2 separate regions of the Homo sapiens genome follow, and region 1 is linked to region 2. Evidence: promoter capture Hi-C in human tissues and cell types (Jung and others, 2019). All regions are on one chromosome and are shown on one strand. The core of a region is centred on a gene start or on the middle of the fragment in contact, and the rest is flanking DNA. Distances in the headings are between cores, read along the strand shown. Region 1 overlaps EIF4B (eukaryotic translation initiation factor 4B). Region 2 holds the start of ITGB7 (integrin subunit beta 7).

Region 1 (6,190 bases), core at 742-3,241, 170 kb after region 2:
GAGCCCCTGCGCCTGGCCAACCCAAGAACTCTTAACACGGTATCAGGTGCGAGACACACTGCTCTTCAAAATCTAATTTTGGAGGCCTTTTTATTTAGGCTTCTAGGTGAAAAACCTATTTCCCATACTATGAGCTCACCTTTCCTTCCTGGTCCTTCCTCAGATGGTTGAGCTGGAGCTACTTTTCCCCCACCACTAGAAGGAAAACAGGTAATCACATTCATCAGTTGTTTCAGGGAGAAAACAACCAAGAAACATAATCATCCTCCAAATGCAGTGGGTAAGCTTTATAGAAAACAAAATCATACTCAATGTTATGGAACATTAAAATATGGGAAAGATTACAATGAAAGCAGTAATTTGAACACTAAAGTGCCATATGCTTTCTAATCATCACATCATGCAGGATTAGTATTGCTATTTTCTTTTCTTTTGGAGTCTTAACTCTGTCGCCCAGGCTGGAGTGCAATGGCACATCTCGGCTCACTGCAACCTCCGCTCTCAGGTTCAAGCAATTCTCCTGCCTCAGCCTCCCGAGTAGCTGGGATTACAGGTACCTGCCACCACGCCAGGCTAATAGTGTTGCTATTTTGCTTACAAATGAGAAGACTTAAGAGAAATGAAAGGAAGTTACCCCCTACCATACTGCCAATATGTGGCAAAAGGGAAGCCTCTGACTTACAGTATTTGCAGATTTGTGCGGCATTAGTACTCCCATCATAGCTGATTTCAAGCTATCAAAGTGGTGGAACTCCAGAAAATGGAACAACTAGGTCTTATGAGCCAGTTCCAGCACACTAAGAGACTAAAGCCAGCATAACTTATAAGGTGCTATACAACGCTGGCATCCCGTAGGAGATCTTCCATCATTACATCACAGTATTTTAGAATCTGCAGTTAACCAACTACTGTTTCCAAACTGACTCACCTTGTAGGGGACTGCTGCTCTGTGTCTGAGCTCTGAGATCGAGCAGGAGGGTTAGAACTTCGCTTCACCCAAGCATTCTCCTTTGGTGGAGGGGCTGGCATTACCTTTAGGGGCTGATCAGGTTTGGGAGGTTTAGAAGTTGGAGAGTGGCAATCTTCCTCCTTATTGAGTGTTTCATTTTCTAGAGACTTCTCACTCTCTCTCCTTCGTGCATCTGTGAAGCCAGAGTGAAAATATCAAATTATCAGGCTGCAGATGCTCACGCATCTACCAGGATCTCAACAGTGTGGAAAATGGTCCACATCCAAGTTTTGGCTCCCAAAGATGGATTTATCCCTAAACCAGTGGTTTACAAGTATTTCCAGAACAATGTCTTACTGATGCACAGAGAAATAGAAAAAATAATGACCATGTATACAACTTAAGGGACACCCAGCCATGTGACCTTTTTAGGAATGAGTATCCTTTACAGCCTTTCTGCATTCTCAATGTTAAAAGTGTCTTGACCTGGAGAATATACATATGTGAAGAGGACCTACAATGAAACCCCAAACTCTAGTAACCACTGCTCAACTTCAGCTTAAAACTCAACACACATGGACTATGATGCAATCATATTTATGAAAAACCACCTACTGGCTGGGTGCAGTGGCTCTCGCCTGTAATCTTAGGATATTGGGAGGCTGTTGGGGGCGGATCGTTTGAGCCTAAGAGTTTCAGACCAGCCTGGACAACATGGTGAAACCCCAGCTCTACAAAAAATAGACAAATTAGCTGGATGTGGCATGTGCCTGCAGTCCCAGCTACTAGAAATGATGAGGTGAGCTGTGATCATGTTGCTGCACTCCAGCCTGGCTGACAGAGTGAGACTCCATCTCAAAAAACAACAACCTACACGTGCGTTTTTTAAAAAATGCAGTTAAGTGTCTTCTAAAAACAAGGAGCCCCCATTGGGAGGCTGAGGCAGGATTGCTTGAGGCCAGGAGTTTGAGACCAGCCTGGGGAGTGTAGTGAGACCCCATCTCTAAAAAAACAAATTTTTTAAATTTAGCCAGGCATGGTTGCGTGCACCCGTCGTATAACAGCTACTTGGGATATTGGGGCAAGAGGATTGCTTGAGGCCAGGAGTTTGAGGCTGCAGTGAGCTATGATCGCACCACTGCACTCCAGCCTGGGTGAGAATGAAACCCTGTCTTAAAAATAAAAAACTAGGCCGGGCACGGCGGCTCACGCCCGTAATCCCAGCACTTTGGGAGGCCAGGGCGGGCAGATCACAAGATCAAGAGATGGAGACAATCCTGGCCAACATGGTGAAACCCCGTCTTTACTAAAAATACAAAAAATTAGCCAGGCCTGGTGGCAGACTCCTGTAATCCCAGCTACTCGGGAGGCTTGGGCAGGAGAATCACTTGAACCCGGGAGGCAGAGGTTGCAGTGTGCTGAGATCATGCCATTGCACTCCAGCCTGGGCAAAAAGAGCGAAACTCCGTCTCAAAATAAATAAATAAAATACAAAAATAAAAAATAAAAAAAATAGAAGGCCAGGCATGGTGGCTCACGTCTGTAATCCCAGCACTTTGGGAGGCCGAGACGGGTGGATCATGAGGTTAGGAGTTTGAGACCAGCCCGTTCAAAAAATTAGTCGGGCATGGTGGCGCTCACCTGTAATCCCATCTACTCAGGAGGCTGAGGCAGGAGAATTGCTTGAACCAGGGAGTCAGAGGTTGCAGTGAGCCAAAATCGTGCCACTGCACTCCAGCCTGGTAACAGAGCGAGACTCCATCTCAATAAATAAATAAATGAATGAAATGCAAGTACAAATCAATTTAGAGGTGGGAGGAAAGACCTTAAAAAATATCACAGTGGCTGGCCCTTGGAATCCCAGCACTTTATGAGGCTGAGACCAGCCTGGGCAACATGGGGAAACCATCTCTACAAAATTTTAGCTGGGTGTAGGCTGGGTGCGGTGGCTGACGCCTGTAATCCCAGTACTTTGGGAGGCCGAGTCGGGTGGATCATGAGGTCAGGAGATTGAGACCATCCTGGCTAACACAGTGAAACCCCATCTCTACTAAAAATACAAAAAATTAGCTGGGTGTGGTGGTGGGCACCTGTAGTCCCAGCTACTCGGGAGGCTGAGGCAGGAGAATGGCATGAACCCGGGAGGCAGAACTTGCAGTAAGCCGAGATCGCGCCACTGCACTCCAGCCTGGGCGACAGAGCGAGACTCGGTCTCAAAAAAAAAAGAAAATAAATAAATAAAAAATTTAGCTGGGTGTAGTGGTGCATGCCTACAGTTCCAGCTACTAGGGAGGCTGAGGGCTGAGGGAGGTGAGGCTACAGTGAGCCATCATCATGCCACTGCACTCCAGCCTGTGTGACAGAGTAAGACCCTGTCTCAAAACAAAATACAAAAAAAACACATCATGGTAAGGGAAGGGAGGTATTACAATTGAACCATTTAGGTTTCCAAAACACTAAAAGTGCTTGATCAACCAGTAATAACACTGCTTGAGAACACTGCTCTGGTGATGATAACATCAAAAAAGGCTGGTCTTGGGACAGCTCACATGAAACTCCAAGCCGTTGACTGTTCTGAATAAACAACATTCAAAGATGTCAAGACATAAAATGAAAATATACCAAAAAAAAAAAAAAAAAAAAAAGAGAGAGACAAACCTAACAACCAAGTATACACTTCAGTGGTAGATTATTAAGCAGATCATCTAGGTCTACTCTGGTACCCATTCCTCAGATTCTTTGGAGCAGAAGATATGAAACTCCAATCGGCCCATGCAACCCAAATAAAGAGTTCATGACTGAATTTAAATATTGCAGGGTCTCTGCATAATTTGGTTATGGATAGTTTATGGAAAACGGCAATAACACGATACCCACCCTGGTCTGACTTACTTCTGCTAGATGTGGTGGAGGTCCCAGTTTGTGATGACTCACTTCCTGTCCTCGACCGTTCCCGTTCCTGAGTTTCTTCACTTCGCCAGCTTGGGTGTCTGTACGAGAGATTCACAAAATACACATTATGCCTGGCTCAGTGAAGGCCACCTTAGACCCATGCTGACCCCTCAAGAACCATCACTTACTTCATCTATATGTGTATATGCATATAAATTTATCTTTCCCTCAAACTATTTGAAAGCTACAGACATTAAGACACACTTTGGCCCTAAATACTTCAGCAAGAATCAACTAATATGGTTAAGAACAGTATCCTACATAATCTACAATACTGCCCTTCTTTACTAATCAACACAGTTCTACAAGCCACTCATTACCAGGCCTAGTTTTTCAGGGCAATTACTTATTATAGTAGGTCTCTAGCCTTTTAGATACAATACCAGCTTTTAATAGTAAACACTTTTGTAATGGACAGGGAACAACTCTTCATTGTGTAAAACTGTCCCTAACACTGCATACTGCCTAACACCCCTGGCCACAGCCCACTAAATGCCCATCAGTGACAACCACTAATGTGATAACGACACAAATTTCCCAAATGCCCCTGGGGATGTAATGCCCCCATTACGAACCACCGGATTCCTAGATGGGATATCCATCAAGACAACACACCTCTCCCGAGGCCGTCGTTCTAGTTTTGGCTCATCCAGCTGACGCTGCAACTTCTCTTGTTCCTTCTGTAGCCGTTCTTCTACTTCTCTTTCTCTAGCAGCTGTGTCAACAGGCTTTGCCCCTCCAAAGATAGAAGCAGCTCGAGTGGACTGGGAGGTACTAGCAGAGGAATCATCTTCCTTAGGAGTACTCCGAGGCTTTAGATTCAGTTTGGGTCTTTGGGGGGGACCTAAGTTAAATGAAACTTTAAGTAATAGTTTTCCAATCACCAGAAGCTGATGGCTGAAAGCCAGATTTCTCAGATATAACTCCTATGAAATGCTACATGAGATTCAAGTTAGTGGCCTAACCAATCCACAGAAGGCAAATAGATCATTAGAAAACAGGTAGTTTAGGCTGGGCATGGTGGCTCACGCCTGTAATCCCAGCACTTTGGGAGGCCGAGGCGGGTGGATCACAAGGCCAAGAGATCGAGACTATCCTGGACAACATGGTGAAACCCCGTCTCTACTAAAAATACAAAAATTAGCTGGGCGTTGGGGCGCGCACCTGTAGTCCCAGCTACTCAGGAGGCTGAGGCAAGAGAATTGCTTGAACCTGGGAGGCAGAGGTTGCAGTGAGCCAAGATCGAGCTACTGCACTTCAGCCTGGTGACAGAGCAAGGCTCCGTCTCAAAAATAAAAAAAAGAAAAAAAAAAAAGAAAATAGGTAGCTCAGGCTGGGCGTGGTGGCTCACGTCTGTAATCCCGATACTTTGGGAGGCCGAGGCGGGTGGATCACCTGGGGTCGGGAGTTCGAGACCAACACAACCAACATGGAGAAACCCCGTCTCTAGTAAAAATAAAAAATTAGCCAGGCATGGTGGTGCATGCCTATAATCCCAGCTACTCGGGAGGCTGAGGCAGGAGAATCGCTTGAACCTGGGAGGCAGAGGTTGTGGTGAGCCAGGATCGCACCACTGCACTCCAGCCCTCCAGGCTGGAAAACAAAAGCAAAACTACGCCTAAAATAAATAAATAAAAATAAATAAAAATAAAAATAGGTGGCATAAATAACCAAGTTCTGGCCGGGCGCAATGGCTCACGCCTGTAATCCCAGCACTTTGGGGGGCTGAGGCGGGCGGATCACCTGAGATCAGGAGTTCGAGACCAGCCTGACCAATATGGAGAAACCCCATCTCTACTAAAAATACAAAATTAGCCAGGAGTGGTGGCACATGCCTGTAGTCCCAGCTACTCAGGAGACTGAGGCAGGAGAATCGCTTGAACCCACCGGGGAGGCGGAGGTTGCAGTGAGCTGAGAACACACCACTGCACTCCAAACTGGGCAACAAGTGCCAAACTCCATCTCAAAAAAAAAAAAAAACAAAAAAACCCAAGTTCAATTACTCTTCTACCACATCCATGATGTAGTACAAGACCACAGGAAAGACTAAAAATGGTAAACATTTAAGTAATAAATTAATAATCTATCAAGACTTCTTTTATATGGGAAGAAATTTTTGACCATCATTAAACTACTGGATGAAAGTATCTTGCTCCGAAATCTGCATGTTAAGAACTAATACAATATGATAGGGAAGATTCTAGTTCTTTATTTTTTTTGAGACAGTCTCGCTCTGTCACCCAGGCTGGAGGGCAGTGGTGTGATCTCAACTCACTGCAACCTCTGCCT
Region 2 (6,531 bases), core at 2,028-4,527:
GCTGACCTGGTGAGGGAGCTGAGTGAGGAGGGAAAGCTTGTAATTGATTGGACTTTGCAGCTTTCTTGGTAGAAGAAAACAGGATGAAGTGTGCCTGGATTGTGGTGGGGACAGGATGGGGGAAAGGGAGCCCATGGGGACTCACCCTGAGTGACCGGGTTTCCCACAACCACCAGGTGTGGGTTCAGAATCTCACTCTGTCGCCCATGCTGGAGTGCAGTGGTGTGATCTCGGCTTACTGTAACCTCCACTTCCCAGGTTCAAGCAATTCTCTTGCCTCAGCCTCCCGAGTAGCTGCAATTACAGGGGTGCACCACCACGCCCAGCTAATTTTTTTTATTTTTAGTAGAGACAGGTTTCGCCATGTTGGCCAGGCTGGTCTCGAACTCCTGACCTCAGGTGATCCGCCTGCCTTGGACTCCCAAAGTGCTGGGATTACAGGCGTGAGCCACTGCGTCTAGCTTGGTGTGGGTTCTTATGTTGGATCCTGTGGATCTCTGGGAGGGCATGAATGGACTTCAGAGGTCTGTAAGCCTGTCTCCACCTCCAGTTATGCATATGTGCATATCTGCTTTTCTCTGGGGAAGGAGTCCATTGAAGTTTTATTTATCTTTTTGTTTTTCATTTTTTTTCTTGAGACGGAATTTCACTCCTGTTGCCCAGTCTGGAGTGCAGTGGTGTGATCTTGGCTCACTGCAACTTCTGCCTCCCGGGTTCAAGCGATTCTCCTGCCTCAGCCTCCCAAGTAGCTGGGATTACAGGGGCGCACCACCATGCTCAGCTAATTTTTGTATTTTTAGTAGAGATGGGGTTTCACCATGTTGGCTAGGCTGGTCTCGAACTCCTGACCTCAAGTGATCCACCTACTTCAGCCTCCCAAAGTGTTGAGATTACAGGCGTGAGCCACCATGCCTGCCCTGAAGTTTCATTTAGTTCTCATGAGGGCTCCTGGCCCCAGAAGAGAAGAAGCCCGCATCTAAGCTACAGTGTTACTGTTTTACACCAGCCCCTCACCCAGGGAGCCCTCTGGCCTTCTGTCCCCAACCACCCTGCTATCACCTTATACCTTACTCCCCCCACCCTCTCTGTTCCCACTCTTCACCCCATGACCTCCACTCACTGCCACCTGCACTGTTACCTTCTTTCCGAATATCTGTCCTTGCTCCCACACGCCTTCCCTCTGCAACACGCCTTTGCAGTGCCTTTGGCCTCTACTGCTGCACCCTGTACTCTTCCCTTCGCCCTCTGTGACTCCCCTCAAGCCCCTCCTCCGTGTCCTACCTTCCCTGGGACAGTGCCTTGCCTACCTTGTTCCTGGCTCTCTTCATTGGTGACCTGTGGTTATGACAAAAAAGTTGAGGATGTGGGAGTAGGGGAGAGAAGAGTGGAGGGCGGAAAGCAGAAGAAGAAAGTGAAAGAAGCTCTAGAGGAAACCACAGGGCCTGTGGGGAAGGAGGGTCATTGCCGTGGTAACCCCTGGTTGTGGGGGAAGGGTATAGGTCCTGGCTATCCCATAGCCTGAGGCCAGCCAAGCCCACCCAGAGAAAGAGCCCCTCCTCTCCAATTGTCCCCTCCTAGCAGCTACACCTCTGCAATCCATCTGACATTTATTGAGCACCTACTATAAGATGGGCACTTGGCTAGGTGTGGTGGCTCCAGCAGGGAAGCCTTGTAGAGCCAGTCCCTGCCTACAAGGAGTGCTCCTTCTGGTAGGGGAGATCGACCTGTGAACACAGACCTCATGTCTAGTTCCCTCTCAAAGCTCTTAGTGATCTGTATGGGCCAGGAGCAAATCCCATTAATATTTTCCTGCTCTCCCTACGGGCTTCATCCTTGCCTTGGCTTCAGCTGTTGTTCCTGCACTCTCTGCTTCTCCCAGTTCACCTCCTCCACCCCTTTCCCAGGATCCACTACTGTGTTGGCTCCTGGTTCCCCAATCACATGCTCTGAGCCTGGCCCTATGCCTCTCTCTTCCAAGTTTCCAGTTGTGTGGACCTTGAATTTCTCAAAGCCTCTTCACTTCTCACCTCTGCTACTTCTCATCCCTACTAATTCTCTTATCAAGCCCTTACTTAGTATGTGCCAGGTAGTCTTGTAGGCAATTGATATGAATTATCTCTTTTAATTCTCACGACAATCCTGTGAGTCTTGCTGGACAGATGAGAAAACAGCTGCAGGCAGGTTTAAGTAACTCAGCTAAGCTCCTTACTACTAGTAAGTAGTAGAGCCAGGATTTGAACTCTAGCAACTTGGCTCCAGAGCCTATGTAGTCAAGCACACTTATATAATGTATCCTGGGTTTTCAAAATGAACAAGTCTGTAATTTCTGGCCTCTCTACAGTACTTACTGCCCCTATTCCCTCCTATCATGTTCCTTCCTATATAAGTAAATGGAGAGATCATGAATTTTGGAGGCAGGCAGACCTGGATTTAAATCCCAGACCAGCCGAGTGTGCCTGTAATCCCAGCTACTCAGGAGGCCAAAGTGGGAGGATTGCTTGAGTCCAGGAGTTACAGACCAGCCTGGGCAACACAGCAAGACCCTGTCTCAAAAATAAAAAACAGGCTGGGCATGGTGGCCCACACCTGTAATCCCAGCACTTTGGGAGGCCGAGGTGGGCAGATCAATTGAGGTCAAGAGTTTGAGACCAGCCTGGCCAACATGGTGAAACCCCGTCTCTATTAAGAATATAAAACGTTGCTGGGCATGGTAGTGCACCCCTGTAATCCCAGCTATTCGGGAGGCTGAGGCAGGAGAATCGCTTGAACCTGGGAGGCGGAGTTTGCAGTGAGCTGAGATTGTGCCATGGGACAGTGAGCTGAGATTGTGCCTGGGAAACAGAGCAAGACCCTGTCTCAAAAGTTAAATTAAATTAAAATAAAAAAAATAAAATAATAAAAATTTAAAATAAAAATCTTTTTTCTTTTTTTTTTTTAAATCCTAGACTAGCTACTTACTAGCTGTGGGACCTTGGGCAAAATTCTTTATTTCCTGCTTCCAAGCCTCAATCTCTGCATCTGTAAAATTGGGGCTTGGGGGAATATTAACCCCTATCTTATGAGATTGTTGTGAGGGTTAATTGTAATATGTTACGTTCAACACATGACAGGGGTTCAATAAATGGGCTTCTTTCTTCCAGATCTCTGTATTGTCCACTCCCTTGGCTCAGCCCCACCCCTATCTGCACCACCTTCTAGATCAGTCACCCCCACCAACCCCAAATCTTCCCCACCCTGGGGAGTGTCACTTCCTCCTCTGCCGTCTCCCAGATCAGTACACAAAGGCTGCTGCTGCCGCCAGAGGAAGGACTGCTCTGCACGCACCTGTGAGTACCAGGGCACCAGCCCTTCTGCCTCCTCTCCTTACAAGCTCTGGCCCACCTGGTCCCAACCTCTTGGGAAGAGGGCTCTGACCTGGATACCGAGGGTCCTGTCCAGACTTGAGAAAGGCTCTGAACTCCTTTCTGCATTCCTAAGATCCCCTGACCTGGTTCCCTCCTCCAGTTTCACAGTACCCCCACCTCCACCTCTCCAAAAGCCCAATCTCTCCTGCATCAGTTTCCCATGAGTGGGTCTGGAGGCAGGGATGTATATGAGTGCTGTCATCTGAGTGCCTGCCATGTGCCAAGGACTATACCGAAGTAGGGCAGGTATACCGATTATACTGAGGGAGGGTTCTTCCAACATCACCCCCAGCTGCTATCCCTAATGCTCTGCCTTCAGCTCAGACTTCTTCCTAATCGGCACCTTGGTCACAGACTCCACTGTCCTGGGACACTGAGGCCCAGCAGCTCAGTTCCGTCCCCTCCTTGTGACTCCCAGTGGGCAGCAGAGGGTTCTGCTTGATTTGGAAGGTAGGGATGGGTTTGGAAGAGGCTCTGTTTCTCAGCTGCTGAGGGGGGTCACAGGGTGTGTACTGGAGTCAGAATGGAGTCCAGAAAAATGGAAATAACCACTTGGTCCCAGAGAGAGAAGGGAAGACTGCAGAATACCCCTAAGGAAAGAGAAATGGGATTAGGCAGAGCCCACCAGGGCTAGTGGGGAGAGAACACAACTTTTGATGGAGATAGTGCCTGGGTTGGAGGGAGGAAAGGAGAAAGCACAGCAGAGGCCTGGCCCTGCCCTGTCCTGCCCTGCCCCTAGTTCACTGGGTGACCCTGGCCTCATGGAATTTAGGTTTCCATTTGTAAAAAGAGTGGGATGGAGTAGTAGATTCAGCCATTCTATAGTTAGGAACAGAGGGGAAAAGGAAGTAAAATAGCCCTATGAAGAAGTGGAGCAGAGAAAAGCAGCAGAGAGATGCAATAGAAGTTTTGAAATGAAAGGAGCCAGAGAGAGACAGAGAAGCAGACAGAGAAATAGGTGGCAGAACATGTATTCTCAAGGAGGGGAGAAGAGAGGATAATTGGAAAGAAAGGTAGGAAAGGGCTGTCCAGGAAGTCCCAGGGCCCCCTTTAAGGGGAGATGAGTGGGCCTAAGGTCTCTGAAAAACCTATGCGGCAGCCGGGGCTCCACTTGTGAGAGATGAGTCAAAACCCGGCTTTGGGTTGCAGCATCTCCAGCCTCCCTGACCACAGGCATGCAGAGCAAGCAGGGCTGAGGTTACGCTGAGGCTGAGCTGGGACTGGCCTCTCCCCGAGGGGTGGAGGCTCCGTTATATATGGCGCCTGAGGTCACAGGTGGTGGGGAGCAGGACCAGGACATTCAAGGACTCAACACCCCACCCCTTTCCCACACTCTGTGCAGAGTATCTGGACCTGACTCTGGGCCCAGGCTGAAGAAGATGCAAATGGTTTATGACAAGGAGTTAGTTGGCCTTTCTCATACATTGCTGATGGGAATGTGGACCAGTACAAGTCCTGAAGAGTTTATGTTGGCAATACCCACCTATATATATATATTTCTTAGCATGAGAATGTAGATGAAATACACACCAGTATTACAAATGATACCTATCTAGTTATCCTGCACGTCCTCTGCTAGGGATTTATCCTACAGATTCAGTTGCAGACGTGTGAAATGATAAATACATGACATTTGGCTGGGGGTGATGGCTCACGCCTGTAATCACGGCAATTTGGGAGGCCGAGGCAGGTGGGTCGCTTGAGCTCAGGAGTTCTAGACCAGCCTGGGCAACATGGGGAAGCCCCATCTCTGCAAAATAATACAAAAATAATTAGCCAGACATGGTAGCATGCGCCTGTAGTACCAGCTACTCGGGAGGCTGAGGTGGAAGGATCAATTGAGCCGGCAAGGTCAAGGCAGCAGTGAGCCATGATTGCACCAGTACACTACAGCCGGGTGACAGAGCAAGACCCTATCTCTCAAATGAATAAATAAATAAATACATACATTACTTTTCATTTCAGCATTATTTGTCATAGGGAACTAGAAACAATTTAAGGCCAGGCACAGTGGCTCATGCCTGTAATTCCAGCACTTTGGGAGGCCGAGGTGGGTGGATCACTTGAAGTCAGGGGTTCGAGACCAGCCTGGCCAACATAGTGAAACTCTGTCTCTACTAAAAACACAAAAATTAGCTGGGTGTGGTGGCTCACACCTGTAATCCCAGCTACTCAGGAGGATGAGGCACACGACTCACTTGAACCCAGGAGGCAGAGGTTGTACATCACGCCACTGCATTCCAGCCTGGTCGACAGAGTGGGACTCTGCCAAAAAAAAAAAAAAAAAAAAGGTAAAGAAAAAAGAAACAAAGATAGTAGTAAATGATATTTATTTAGGGTAGGTGTGGGAACTGGGTATGGCATATGGAGTAGGAGATTTCTCACCATCTTATTTAACTTTTTGATTTTTAAAATGGTAAGATACACAAACATTTATCATTTTTACCCCTTTTAAGTGTACAATTCAGTGGCATTAAGTACATTCACTAATTCCAGAACTTATTCATCACCCTAAAATGAAACTGCCCATTAAGCAGTCATTCCCCACTTCCCCTTCTCCCAAGCTCTGGTAACCACTAATCTACCTTCTGTCTCTGTGGATTTTTCTAGTTTGGATATGTTCCATATGTGGAATCATACAATATGTGACCTTTCATGAATGGTTTTGTTCACTGAGCATGTTTTCAAGGTTCATCCATGTTGTAGCATGTATGTATCAGTACTTCATTTTTTTTTTTTTTTTGAGACCGAGTTTTGCTCTTGTTGCCCAGGCTGGAATGAAATGGCACAATCTCGGCTCACTGCAACCTCCGCCTCCTGGGTTCAAGCGATTTTCCTGCCTCAGCCTCCCAAGTAGCTAGGGTTACAGGAGACCACCACCATGCCTGGATAATTTTTGTATTTTTAGTAGATATGGGGTTTCACCATGTTGGTATGGCTGGTTTTGAACTCCTGATCTCAAGTGATCCACCCGCCTCGGCCTCCCAAAGTGCTGGGATTACAGTCGTGAGCCACTGTGCCCAGACCCATTTCATTGCTTTTTATGGCCAAATAACGTTCTGCTGTATGGATATACCACCTTTTCTTTATCCATTCATCAGTTGATGGACATCTGGGTTCTTTCTAC

What was found. Contacts are between HindIII fragments. The study calls those that stand out against the background at their distance.
Region 1: a contact is called between a fragment that was not itself captured here and the fragment with the promoter of ITGB7 in region 2, in 1 of the 25 tissues and cell types used here (dorsolateral prefrontal cortex).

Annotation. Positions count from the first base shown.
Region 1 is chr12:53,032,361-53,038,550 of GRCh38, reverse strand. EIF4B (eukaryotic translation initiation factor 4B) reads right to left here. Exons shown (of 15, transcript NM_001417.7): 9 at 4,517-4,745; 10 at 3,842-3,939; 11 at 929-1,142; 12 at 140-195. Among named protein-coding and RNA genes, the nearest start is that of TNS2, 15 kb to the left of the region's middle. The HindIII fragment of the contact is 9,298 bases long and covers 1-6,190 here.
Region 2 is chr12:53,203,997-53,210,527 of GRCh38, reverse strand. ITGB7 (integrin subunit beta 7) reads left to right here and starts at 3,277. Exons shown (of 16, transcript NM_000889.3): 1 at 3,277-3,326. RefSeq lists an enhancer at 5,148-5,237. The HindIII fragment of the contact is 22,503 bases long and covers 1-6,531 here.